4 separate regions of the Homo sapiens genome follow, and all the other regions are linked to region 1. Evidence: promoter capture Hi-C in 16 types of primary human blood cells and fetal thymus (Javierre and others, 2016). All regions are on one chromosome and are shown on one strand. Each heading gives the region's core, a stretch centred on a gene start or on the middle of the fragment in contact. The rest is flanking DNA. Distances are from core to core; before and after follow the strand shown.

Evidence for each region. The method cuts DNA at HindIII sites, captures the fragments that hold promoters and counts their contacts. A CHiCAGO score of 5 or more calls a contact.
Region 2: a contact is called between a fragment that was not itself captured here and the fragment with the promoter of SLC9A4 in region 1, in 1 of 17 cell types (non-activated CD4 T cells). The highest score is 5.6, in non-activated CD4 T cells.
Region 3: a fragment that was not itself captured here is called in contact with the fragment with the promoter of SLC9A4 in region 1 in 7 of 17 cell types (naive CD4 T cells, non-activated CD4 T cells, naive CD8 T cells and 4 more); the score reaches 9.5 in naive CD4 T cells.
Region 4: a fragment that was not itself captured here is called in contact with the fragment with the promoter of SLC9A4 in region 1 in 7 of 17 cell types (non-activated CD4 T cells, naive CD8 T cells, activated CD4 T cells and 4 more); the score reaches 11.1 in non-activated CD4 T cells.

What each region holds. Positions count from the first base shown.
Region 1 is chr2:102,471,814-102,474,696 of GRCh38, reverse strand. SLC9A4 (solute carrier family 9 member A4) reads right to left here and starts at 1,471. Exons shown (of 12, transcript NM_001011552.4): 1 at 682-1,471. The coding sequence starts at 937. The HindIII fragment of the contact is 5,984 bases long and covers 1-2,883 here.
Region 2 is chr2:102,099,559-102,102,488 of GRCh38, reverse strand. It overlaps a transcript of IL1R1 not described here. Among named protein-coding and RNA genes, the nearest start is that of IL1R1, 42 kb to the left of the region's middle. The HindIII fragment of the contact is 214 bases long and covers 1,164-1,377 here.
Region 3 is chr2:102,028,575-102,031,274 of GRCh38, reverse strand. No RefSeq gene overlaps it. Among named protein-coding and RNA genes, the nearest start is that of IL1R2, 38 kb to the right of the region's middle. The HindIII fragment of the contact is 7,742 bases long and covers 1-2,700 here.
Region 4 is chr2:102,009,989-102,012,740 of GRCh38, reverse strand. All of the region lies in intron 3 of IL1R2 (interleukin 1 receptor type 2), which reads right to left. Among named protein-coding and RNA genes, the nearest start is that of IL1R2, 19 kb to the right of the region's middle. The HindIII fragment of the contact is 5,709 bases long and covers 1-2,752 here.

The sequences.
Region 1 (2,883 bases), core at 222-2,721:
CTCTTTGGTTTTTGACACAAAGATCCCTTGATTGGAATTTAATCTATTAACTTGGATTCACTTTATTTCACAAAGGAAATTAGAGGTGCCTCACTGGCCCCACTTGGTAGGTATAAACTAATATTTTACTGACAGATATAATCTTATATGCCCCGACATCCCATCACTGAGTAATACAAGTTGCCTATGGTTTTCTTGTTTTTTGCTTTCTGTCAATTTGCAAGAAGCACACGCTACTTTTAAAGAATAAACAATGGGGTGATTGATGAAGCCCACAATTACACAGCCAAGAATATTTTACAGAAGAAACATTATGTGTTTCCTGAAATTTCCACCTTGCATCATGCCCAGGTCTACGTGCTTTATTCTCTATATTTTTAAAGCATAGAATTTGAGAGTTTTGCATGTCAACAATGTCACATGGTTGTCACCCTGAAATGAGAAGAAACCAACACAGCCCAGTACCCAGAAGTATGCTCTCAAATTTCAAAGAGCAATCTCAAAGTATTAAATAGCTTAGTAAAATGCAGTTATGACTTTCCCTTGACTGAAGGGAAGAGAATTTTTAATGTAATAGCAGTAACAGTTAAAATCCTCTTAGCCCGTTATCTATAAGGCATTTTCACATTCACTATCTTATGTAAAAAGATAACTCACCAAACCAGGTGTTTAAGGACTTACCTATTTTTGCAAGGGATGCTAGAAGTATCCAGAGAGTGACCTCATAAGGAATTTGCACATAGTCATAATCCAGTTCAAAAACAGATATCCCTTCCTCTGGCTCTGAGCTGGCAGCAGCAAACCAAGCGTTAGATGCATACTGAGCAGTGGAATTTGCAGATTCATTCAAATCAGAAGATGCTTCAGAACACTCAAGAGCCACTAGCAGTAGCAAACAATTCCAAGGACTGTAAGTCACGAACATCTGCAGAGCCATTCCTGTGGGCTTCTCCTACCTACACCCCTGTGTGGATGTGTGCCACACATCTGAAGTCGGGGAGGCTTCTAGAGAGTGACTGCATCCACCTGGGTCAAAAGTAATATAGGTACAGTCTGTGGGTCCTCCCAAGAAGATTCCGAGTGTGTTATTGAGCTCTGTATGTAGACACTTTCTAATCTGGTTTAAATCGTTTGTGTTCAGGCAACTCAGCTTCCAACTCAAATGCAGTTATTCAATAGACTTGTTAAAGTCCATGGAGCTACCTGGAGGACCTCCATCCAATCATGGCTTGAGCAATTTATGAAAGAAATAAAAATCTCTTCACTTAAAGGCATTTCCTCATTTCACTGCATACTGGCTTTGTCTTGTGGGTGAAAATTTAAAAGGATACTGTAGTGCTCATTCCACAGATCACTGGAGTCCTTCTAATGAGGAAAGGAAACCTTCCCTGTCTATCAGATCCCAAGAAGGAGCTACCTGATCTGCGCTTGTTCCTTCTCTCCTCCCCCTGTCCTCTCATTTGTTTTGAATGACCACGGCTTCAGGTAGCTCTGGAACTACACTTAATTATTTGCTTTGATTTGACTTTTGTAATGAAATCCTTTCTCTGAGGGTTCTCTGGAGGTCACACTGCTGACACCTAGTGGGCACCTGCAATACAACACCCTTGACACTTTCAGTTATGAACGTTAAGGTGACCATGAAATTATCTAAACCAGGACACTTTGGGGAATGAATAATAATGATAATTATGCAAAGCTATAGGCACAAACCAGAATTGTCCAGCAAACTGTCTTATATGGTCTCTATACATGAGGAAGAAGGAGGATAAGAAGGAGGTGGTAACAACAAGGATGGTAGCAAACACTGAAACTTTTGCATGTTACCAGACTCCATGAGCAGTCATTCATAGAAGGAATGAAGTTCCAGATCTCTATGAACTTTACACTATAATTTTTAAAAAACAGGAAGCCAAAGAACAAGTTCCATAAATACACCTAAATACCTGGATTTGTAAAACTCCATGGCACATCCAGATTTTCCATTTAAAAAACATTTGTTGTTGTTAAAAAGAAGCAGCATCATAGAATGTTGATGAAAGAATTTTGAGATAATTTTTATGAGCCTACTTCTCGCTCTTCTACTTGTTGCCAGGTGACCTTGGTGAAGTTAATTACCTTTCAGAAATTCCTTATCTGAAACAGAGAGGAAAATATCTGCCTCATTGAGTAGCTAGGAACATTAAATGAGATAAAGCAAGTAAAGAATTTGGCATGTAGTTGGCACTTAAATGTTAGTTTTTATTTTAAATTACATTTCTTATACTTTTAGGATAAGATACAACACTTTTGCAATGATTACTGATACTCAGTAAAAAATGAGAATAATACATCATCCATATACTACCCCAACATCTCTTTTACATCAAACTGCAAGATGCTTTGTGTTTTGTTTTTTCTTAGTTCATATTAGTGAGTGCAGGGGATTTCCCCCCAGCCAACACACACACACACACACACACACACACACACACACACACACACACACTCAGCTAACATCACTGGGAAATTGAGAAAGGAATGGTTGAGAAGGGCTAACACCTAGATGCAAATTCATAGTGAGGCAATAGAATTAAAAGTTCACATATGAATATTTTTTCTTTTTCCTTCAGTTTGACTCCAGAATAGATTAGATTCAGTCACTGAAATGAGACTATCAGGTGGACTACAAGAAGGGTACACATATTGAGTCGATTATTTTTTCTCAAAGAATATATGAATATCCTTTAATAGAAAGCTGCTTTATAATAGGTGTTTTATTTTTATTTGCATTTTATTGTACTTTTCTTTCTAAAAAGAAATGAGGGAGCAAGTCTCACATAGTGCCTTGTGGAAAGACCAAAATGAAGAATCAAAAGACTTATGTACTCAGACATTAGTTAT
Region 2 (2,930 bases), core at 21-2,520, 370 kb after region 1:
AATAGCCATTTTGACTGGTGTGAGATGATATCTCATTATGGTTTTGACTTGCATGGAAATTTAAATTCTTTAGGCCCATTTTACAGGTGAGAAAACTGATTGAGATTATGTAAATACTTTCCCCAAGCTCCCTTAGTCAGGCAGGGGTAGAGCCCAGGTGGAGCCCAGGCTTGCATTGCTCTTCAAGTGTTACCAGGGATCCACCGCAATTTACTTGACAACAGGTCTTATCTACTCAGGAACAGTGCAAGTTCCTAGCAGCCATTGTCTCATACTTCCTGGTACCCTTTCCAGAGAGCACCCAAAAGACCTTCCAATTCCAGGCTATTTCCAAGCAGCTGGATTAATTGGCAGATTATTAGTTCAAGGACTTTTCCAGCCCTCTTTTCCACTCCAGATGATTTCTTCTCTCTTGCTCCTTCCTACTTCTCAAAAAGGAGAAAAATTGGAGGAATCTGCACTGTTTAGTTAACCTGTGTGAACACACACGCCACACACATGCACCCACACGCACCCACACACACGCTTTTGCCTGGGTTTTGTCAGCTGTGTTGTTCCCCTACAGAGTTCAGGGAAAACAAATAGTCATAGTTGGCAACAAAAATTCAATATCAGAAGTTAATGGATAATCTCTCAAACTCTAGGGTCCTTTATGAATGCTAAAGTATAGAATTCCCTGAGCCGAGCCCAGAGCTTTTAACATTTAAACTATCAGAAGACGTCATTCTAACACAATTTTATCAGTAACATGGTCTTTGACAAACTCCAGAATGTCTGTGTTTATACATAAAAGGTCAGAAATAACTCAAGTATTTTCCCAGAATATTCTTATGGAAAAGTTTACACATTCAGAATTGATTTGCATTTATGAATATCTTTAATGTGGCTGTAATCCATGTGTTTCTTATACCTCCCAATTGAAAAAGGAGAATAGGAAGAAGCACGTACAGTATGTGTGTGCATGTGTGTGCATGAGCATGTGTGTATGTGTGTGCATGTTTGTGCAAGTATGTGCAACCCTAGAATCTAACCTTGGCTCCCCCTCAACATGCTATGGGTCATTAAGAGAGGGCAGGAGACTTCTGCTTTCCTAAGTCCAGCAATTCTATAATTAGAGAGACACCAACCTGGACGCCAGCAGACCTGGGTTAAAGAGCTAAGCTTCAACTTCATCTATGTATCTTTGGGAAAATCACTTCATCTCACTGGATCTCAGTTTCTACATCTGAAAAAACAAAACAAAACAGTATAGTCTAAACTCTTGGGACACAAAGTGTGGCCCATAAGCCAAGAGCATCACCAAGGAGCACGATGGAAATGCAGAACATTAGGGCCCACCCCAGAACCACTGAATTCAAATCTATATTTGACTAAGCTTTCTGGGTGACTTGTGTGGACAGTAACACAGGGAGTGCTAATTGACCTGATCTCCAAAATGCTTTCCAGTGTGACACATTCTGTTAGTTTAACCTTTGTCTCTTTACACTAGAGAATTAACCATGCCATCCCCGATGGCCACTGGTAACCTTTGTGGTCAGGCCCTAAGGATCTGACTTGAGTGCCTGGCTGCTTATCATACTCCTATTCCAGGCAATGATACATGAACAATTCGTATCATCCCCATGACTCTTCCAGACCGCACTGTGTCCAGCTTTCTATCAAACCTCCGGGGAGAATGCCATCCCTTAATTCTTCATACCTCCAGACAGACAGCTTCCACACCCATTACTGAGTTTAAGGGATTTTGCAAGCACAGATGAAGGAATGGGAAAGATTCTAGATGAATGATTACAGGGATAGTCTTTCAGCACTTAAGGAAGCCACGATCACCAAGAGAAAGCATGAAATGACTAAAAACAGGCCAGGTCTGGTGAAGCTCATGCAATCTTTTGTTTGATGAGGTTGTTAGATGGTGAGATTACCACAGTTAAATGCTGTGAACTTAGTGAATCAGAATTTCATGTAAGTATCTGCAAACATCTGTCTTGTGAGCAAAACAAAGAATATGGTTAGTAGAGTTGGATACATGTATAAACACCCATACTCAATGGTAAATGAGTCAATTAGAAGAGTATGCTCTACTGGAAAGCCTCAGGCTCAGTTCCAGGTATTTGGTTCCATCCTGGCTCTCAGGTGTGGAGCTGACCTCTCCTCCCAGAAAAGAGGCAGCCAGGCTGGGCATGGACATGGTCATGGCACTCTTCAATTGTGGAGAGTACAGAGCAGAGGAATGCAGGAAAGGAGGGAGGGTAGAAAGAAGGAATACATTTTCCAAAGGAAGCAAATACAAGTTTAGAAAGCAGAACTGGACACTGAAGCCAAAAAAATTTATCAAATTGGCATTGGCCAAAAGAACCCGACGATGTGCAGATGGTGTGTGGTAATATTCCTGGAGGCCTTGAATGCAGGAAAGGAGAATGCCTCGAGGCCAAGCCAGGGGTTGGGGAGGGAGCTGGGAGGTGCAGAACAGGTTTCTACAGCAGAAGGGCAGAGCAGGCAAGCTTACCACATTCTGGGAGTCCTGGAGTTAAAATGAACTGTGAATTCACTGAGAGAGCAAATCAGGGTCCCAAAAGACGCCATTAAGATAGAACCATAGGCCAAATCTAACATAGTGAGACTTAACACAGACAAATCTAAAATCCCATTCTTAGTTCCCTAACCTCATATTGTTAAGTACAGGACAGGGCATATGAAAAAGCAAAGCACTGGTGGAAAACAAAACCAAACAAATGCCAGAGTCTTGACTGACTAAGACGTCCACAGTGAATGATGTGTGGTAGGAGGCTGTAGTTGCCCTGGTGGAAGTGTACCTTCTGATACAAAGGAGGTCATCACTGGAGAATGCCCTCAGACACGCTCTTGTCATGGCATGCAGAGAAAACAATAACAAAGGCTGTTCATGGCCGAAGAAGACCAGCTAGGCTCTC
Region 3 (2,700 bases), core at 93-2,592, 440 kb after region 1:
CAAAGAACCCTGTGCAACGTCCTCACCGAATCCTCCTTCTCAAACCTCACTCTCCTCTCCTTTCCGGTTAAAATCTAATAAGGTGTTCAAAGGCCTCTGCCGGCCCCTCCGTACTTCTCCCTCCCTGAATGCTTAGAAAACAGAAGAAGGAAAGAGGAGATGATAACAGGAAAATAGAAAAGCGAGGGTCAAAAGTTAACTGCTCAAAACCGCCTTCACCTAAACCAGGCATTGGCAAACTTTTCCTGTAAACGACCAAATAGTAAATATTCTAGGTTTTGCCATCTCAACTACTCAACTCTATCTTCAAAGAGCAAAAGTGGCCAAAGACAGTCTGCAAACAAACAGGCAAGGCTGTTTCCTAATACTCTTAATCCACAGAAACAGAGGGCAGGCTGCATTTGGCCCACAGGCTGTGGTTTGTCAACACGTAGTCCAAGTACAACAATTTTTATTTCTGTCTATTCCTCCTATGTTTTTGATTATTAAACAGTTACTATAGTTGAAATAGAAAAATAGGAAAAATGGAAATATAAAATATAGCTAAATAGCTAAGTTAATTTGGACTAAGTGATTATCCCCATTTTTCAGATGAGAAAATTGATGTACTTTGAGATTAAAGGATTTGCCCAAGATCACAGAGGCACCATGTGGCAGTGCTTGAACTTGAACTCACAAAGTCTGCCTTCAAAGTCCAAGTTTTTAAGTTTTCTCCTTGTCTAGATGCAAACAAATGTCAATATTGTAACCATAAAAATTGTACAAAACAATGTATAATATTTCCTTAACACTGTAAACATTTAAGTCTTACAATTTTGATAATTTGGTCATTATAGTATTGATCATTATAATTGATAATTGCTGCATAATTTTTCATCATTGGGGTAATAAGTTTTATTAAATTATTTTATATCTCTAATGATTTTATTTTATTAAATTATTTCCTAAGCTAAATTCCCAGGAGTAGTATCACTGGGCATCTCTCAAACCTTGTTGTTATGTACTGGGGAAGAGAGTGCTGATTTGTGGCAACTGCCAATTTCTGTGGTGTAAAGACTCCACAATGGCCACAGATTTTAAGCTACCAACATGACATCACTGAACAGAGCCAAGAAGAGAGGCACATCCTGGGCTCTTGCAAGAAGATGCAAGCTGGTCCAGCACCCAACTGACTTGGCTCATGTTGCCTTTCTTCTTCCCAGCACCAAATTATAAATTGAATTAAAGTGTGAGAGTGTTTCATAAAAACTTTTAAACACTTGATAGTGTGTGAGTGCACTGGTATCTCAAATTTGCTCTAATTTACATCCCCTGGTTCTTACTGAAAGTGTCATTTTTCCATGAGTTCCTTTATGTGTGTCTCTTCTGCAATCCCCTACTCACATTTTTTCATCTGTAGGGTGATGATGCTACTATAAACTGAATGTTTGTGTCCTCCCAAAATTCATATGTTGAAACCCTAACCTCCAATACAATGGTATTAGGAGTTGTGGCCCTTGGGAGGTGATTAAGTCAGGAGGGCTGCCGTCTATTAGCCAGGAAGTGGGCCCTCACCAGACACCAAATCTGCTCGCACCTTGATCTTGGACTTCTCAACCTCCAAAACTGTGAGAAATAAATTTCTGTTGTTTACAAGCCACCCTAGTTATGGTATTTTGTTGTAGCAGCCCAAAAAGACTAAGACACATGCCTTTTCTATGACTTTGAATAACTCTACACATGATAGTTACTCATTCCTTGAACTTGTCTGACACAATTTTGTCTAAACCTTGCTTTTGTTATTTTGTTGTGCAGAAATTATAATGTAATTAAGCCTACTCACCTTTACTCTTGCAAGTCTTTTGGTAATGAACAAGAGAGAGTTCATCCCATCTTCATTTATTCTGCAAATATTCATTAAATGCCTGCTTTGAGGTACTGGAAATACAGCTGGGACCAAAATAATCTCTCTGACCTCATGGGTCTTCCATTTGGGTGGGAAACATAAATTGAAAATCAACAAGCAAATCTATACTGGAAGGTCTGGTGGTGATAAAAGCTACAATGGTACAAAGCAGGGTGAGGGGACAGAGAGGAAGGAAGGTCCTCTCTGGGGACCTTCCCTCTGGGAAGGTCACATTTGAACAGAGACCTGAAAGGTGGAGTCACCAGCCGTGCTGATTTTCCTGCCATTGGAGTTTTTTTTTTTTTAATTGAACTCATTTATCTATCTGGATTTTATTTTTGGTATATGATATGAAAGAGGCTCTGGGTACATTTTATTCAGTTTGTCTACAATTCTTTTAATGCCCTTCCTTCTATTTTCAGACATGTTGTTATGAAGTTGGGTCTAATTCTCAGTTCACTAATACATTCCAATGTGTGTATTTTTAATTGCTATTTTTTGGATAGCCCTTTCCAAAAAAGTTCACCAATTCTTGCTGATTCTTCTGCTTTAGCACTAAATTATTCTTTTCAGTCTCAAAATGAACAACCAGCTTCCTGAAAGGCAAACTATGTCTTAACCATCACTGTATGTACAACATCTCCCATAGAGTCTAGTCAAAATAGACTCATAATATGTTTTTGTTGAATGAATGTCAAAACTCATGTAGATGTTTTCCACTCTCATGCAGGCCTAAGAGCACCTCATTCTGTTAAATAGGTCACAAGTAGCAGACAGCTACTCACACCCACTCACAGGCACATCTACTGTTGTCA
Region 4 (2,752 bases), core at 212-2,711, 460 kb after region 1:
ACCAGGCATCCACATTTTCCTAGCATAAGAATAGAAGATGGTTTGCCTGCTTCTTAGGCAAGGTTCATTGACAGGATTAAACCTGTCCCTAAATTGCTTATAGTTGGGGCTAGACATATGGATGGTAGTGTCAAGCTGGGTTTAATTTGAAAAGATTCTTAATTTCACACATGCACGCACATGCACACACACACACACACACAGAGGGCACCCTCTACCTCATATCTCCTCCCACCCCCCACATACCCTGCCACACACACACCCAGCCTAGGACTGGGGATGACGTGGTCTGAAATTTTTCCATTCACCAGTACTTCCACTGTGCTAAGAATCTCACTTCTCCGGTTCTTTTTCTAAATGTACATATTCCTGGGTACAGTCCTTCTTAAGTCAAATGAGTTTATGAAATCTGGAGACTCTGAAGCCAGCTGGTGGAAGGAGCAAGCAGTGCCTTTGGAGGAACAGAAGAAGCAGCTGAAGAGAGAGGCCAAAACACTAGTTCCCAATCAAGCCAAAGGTTGTCTTAGTTCAGAAGAACAAAGCCAAGGAAGTTTTTATTGGAGGAACAGATGAAGCAGCTGAAGAGAGAGGCCAAAACACTAGTTCCCAATCAAGCTGAGGGTTGTCCTAGTTCAGAAGAACGAAGCCAAGAAACTTTTTAAGATCACCAACACTAGGCCTAAAACTTCATCCATCAAGAAGGAGTAGGACATGTCAAGACCATTCAATGGGGAAAGGACAGTCTTTTCAGCAAATAGTACTGGAGAAAATGGATATCCACATGCAAAAGAATGAAGCAGGACCCTTACCTAACACCATATACAAAAATTAACTCAAAATGGATCAAAAAGCAAAAGAGCTAAAACTATAAAATTCTTAGAAGAAAACAAAGGGGAAAACCTTCATGACATTGGATTGGGCAATGATTTCTTAACACTAAAAGCACAGGCAACAAAAGAAAAAAATAGATAAACTGGACTTGATCAAAATTAAAACCTTTTGTGTAACAAATGACACTATGAACAGAATGAATATGCAACTTAGAGAACAGGAGAAAATATTTCTAACTATATATCTGATAAGGCAAGGGGTTAATAACCAGGAAATGTAAAGAACTCCTACAACTCAACAACAACAGCAAAATGCAGTTTTTAAAATGGGCAAAGGACTTAGAGTCCATAAAGGAGATATGTCTGTGTCTCCAGCGAAGATGCACAGATGGTTAATAAGCACACAAAAAGATGCTCAGCATCGCTAATCATTAGGAACGTGGAAATCAAAGCCACAATGAGAGACCCCTTCACACCCATTAGGATGATTATTATCAAAAATAATAGAAAATAACATGTGTTGGTGAGTATGTAGAGAAATTGAGTGTCGGCACTGTTGTTGGGAATGAAAAATGGTACAGCCACTATGGAAAACAGTATGATAGTTCCTCAAAATTAAATATAGAATTAACAGATGATCCAGCAGTTCCTCTTTGGGGTCTATACCCAGAAGAACTGAAAGCAGAGATTTGAACAGATATCTTCACATCCATGTTCATATTGGATTCACAATAGCTGAAAGGAGGAAGCAAGTCAAGTGTCCCTGGATGGATAAATAGATAAACAAAATGTGGTACATACATAAAACGGAATAATAATATTCCACCTCATAAAGGAAGGAAACTCTGACTCATGCTACAACATGAACGAACCTTGAAAACACTATGCTAAGTGAAATAATTCAGTCACAGAAAGACTGATTTCACTTAAACGATTTAAACGAGGTACCTAGAGTCGTCAAAATCATAGAGTCGGAAAGTACAGTGGTGGTTGCCTGAGGCTGGAGGGAAGAAGAGAGGGGAGTTATTGTTTAATGGGTTCAGAGTTTCAGTTTGTGAGGATGAAAAACTCCTAAAGATGGATAATGGTGATGGTGCCACTGATCTGTACACTAAAAACTGTTTAAGATGATAAATTTTTTGTTATGTGTATTTTTTCTACAGTTAAAGGGGAAGAAAGCAACAGGACAAAGAGGGAGGAGGACTGGACCCAGGGTCAGGAGACTCGGGCTCCAGAGTCAGCTCTACCACGCACCACCTGGGGAACTTTCCAAGCCAGCTTGGTTCCCTCATCCTTACAACGAGCAGTTGGACTAATTTTTTTTTTTTTTTTTTTTAGACAGAGTCTCGCTCAGTCGCCCAGCCTGGAGCGCAGTGGCTCGATCTCCGCTCACTGCAAGCTCCATCTCCTGGGTTCACGCCATTCTCCTGCCTCAGCCTCCTGAGTAGCTGGGACTACAGGCGCCCGCCACCATGCCCAGCTAATTTTTTTGTATTTTTTTAGTAGAGACGGGGTTTCACTGTGTTAGCCAGGATGGTCGTGATCTCCTGACCTCGTGATCCACCCTCTTCGGCCGCCCAAAGTGTTGGACTAATTTAATCCTAAGGTCTCACCCAGCTCTAAAATCCTATTCAGAGTAAAATCCTATTCTATGTCTATTTCTTGGTTCCTTACCATGTGGCTTCAACAGTGAACAACATAGACCAAGTCCCTGCCCTTGCAGAGTTTACATTCTAATGGGTAGACAAACATTAAATACAGTAGCGCACACAAATGTGTCAGATGGGAAAATCTTATCGCAAGGAAACTACAGCAGGGTAAGGAGAGAGTGACAGAGGGCGGTGTCAGCTAAAATGGCTAGGGACGTTGTCTCCAAAGAGGTGGCATTTGAGCAAAGACTAAATGGAGACAGAATGAGACTG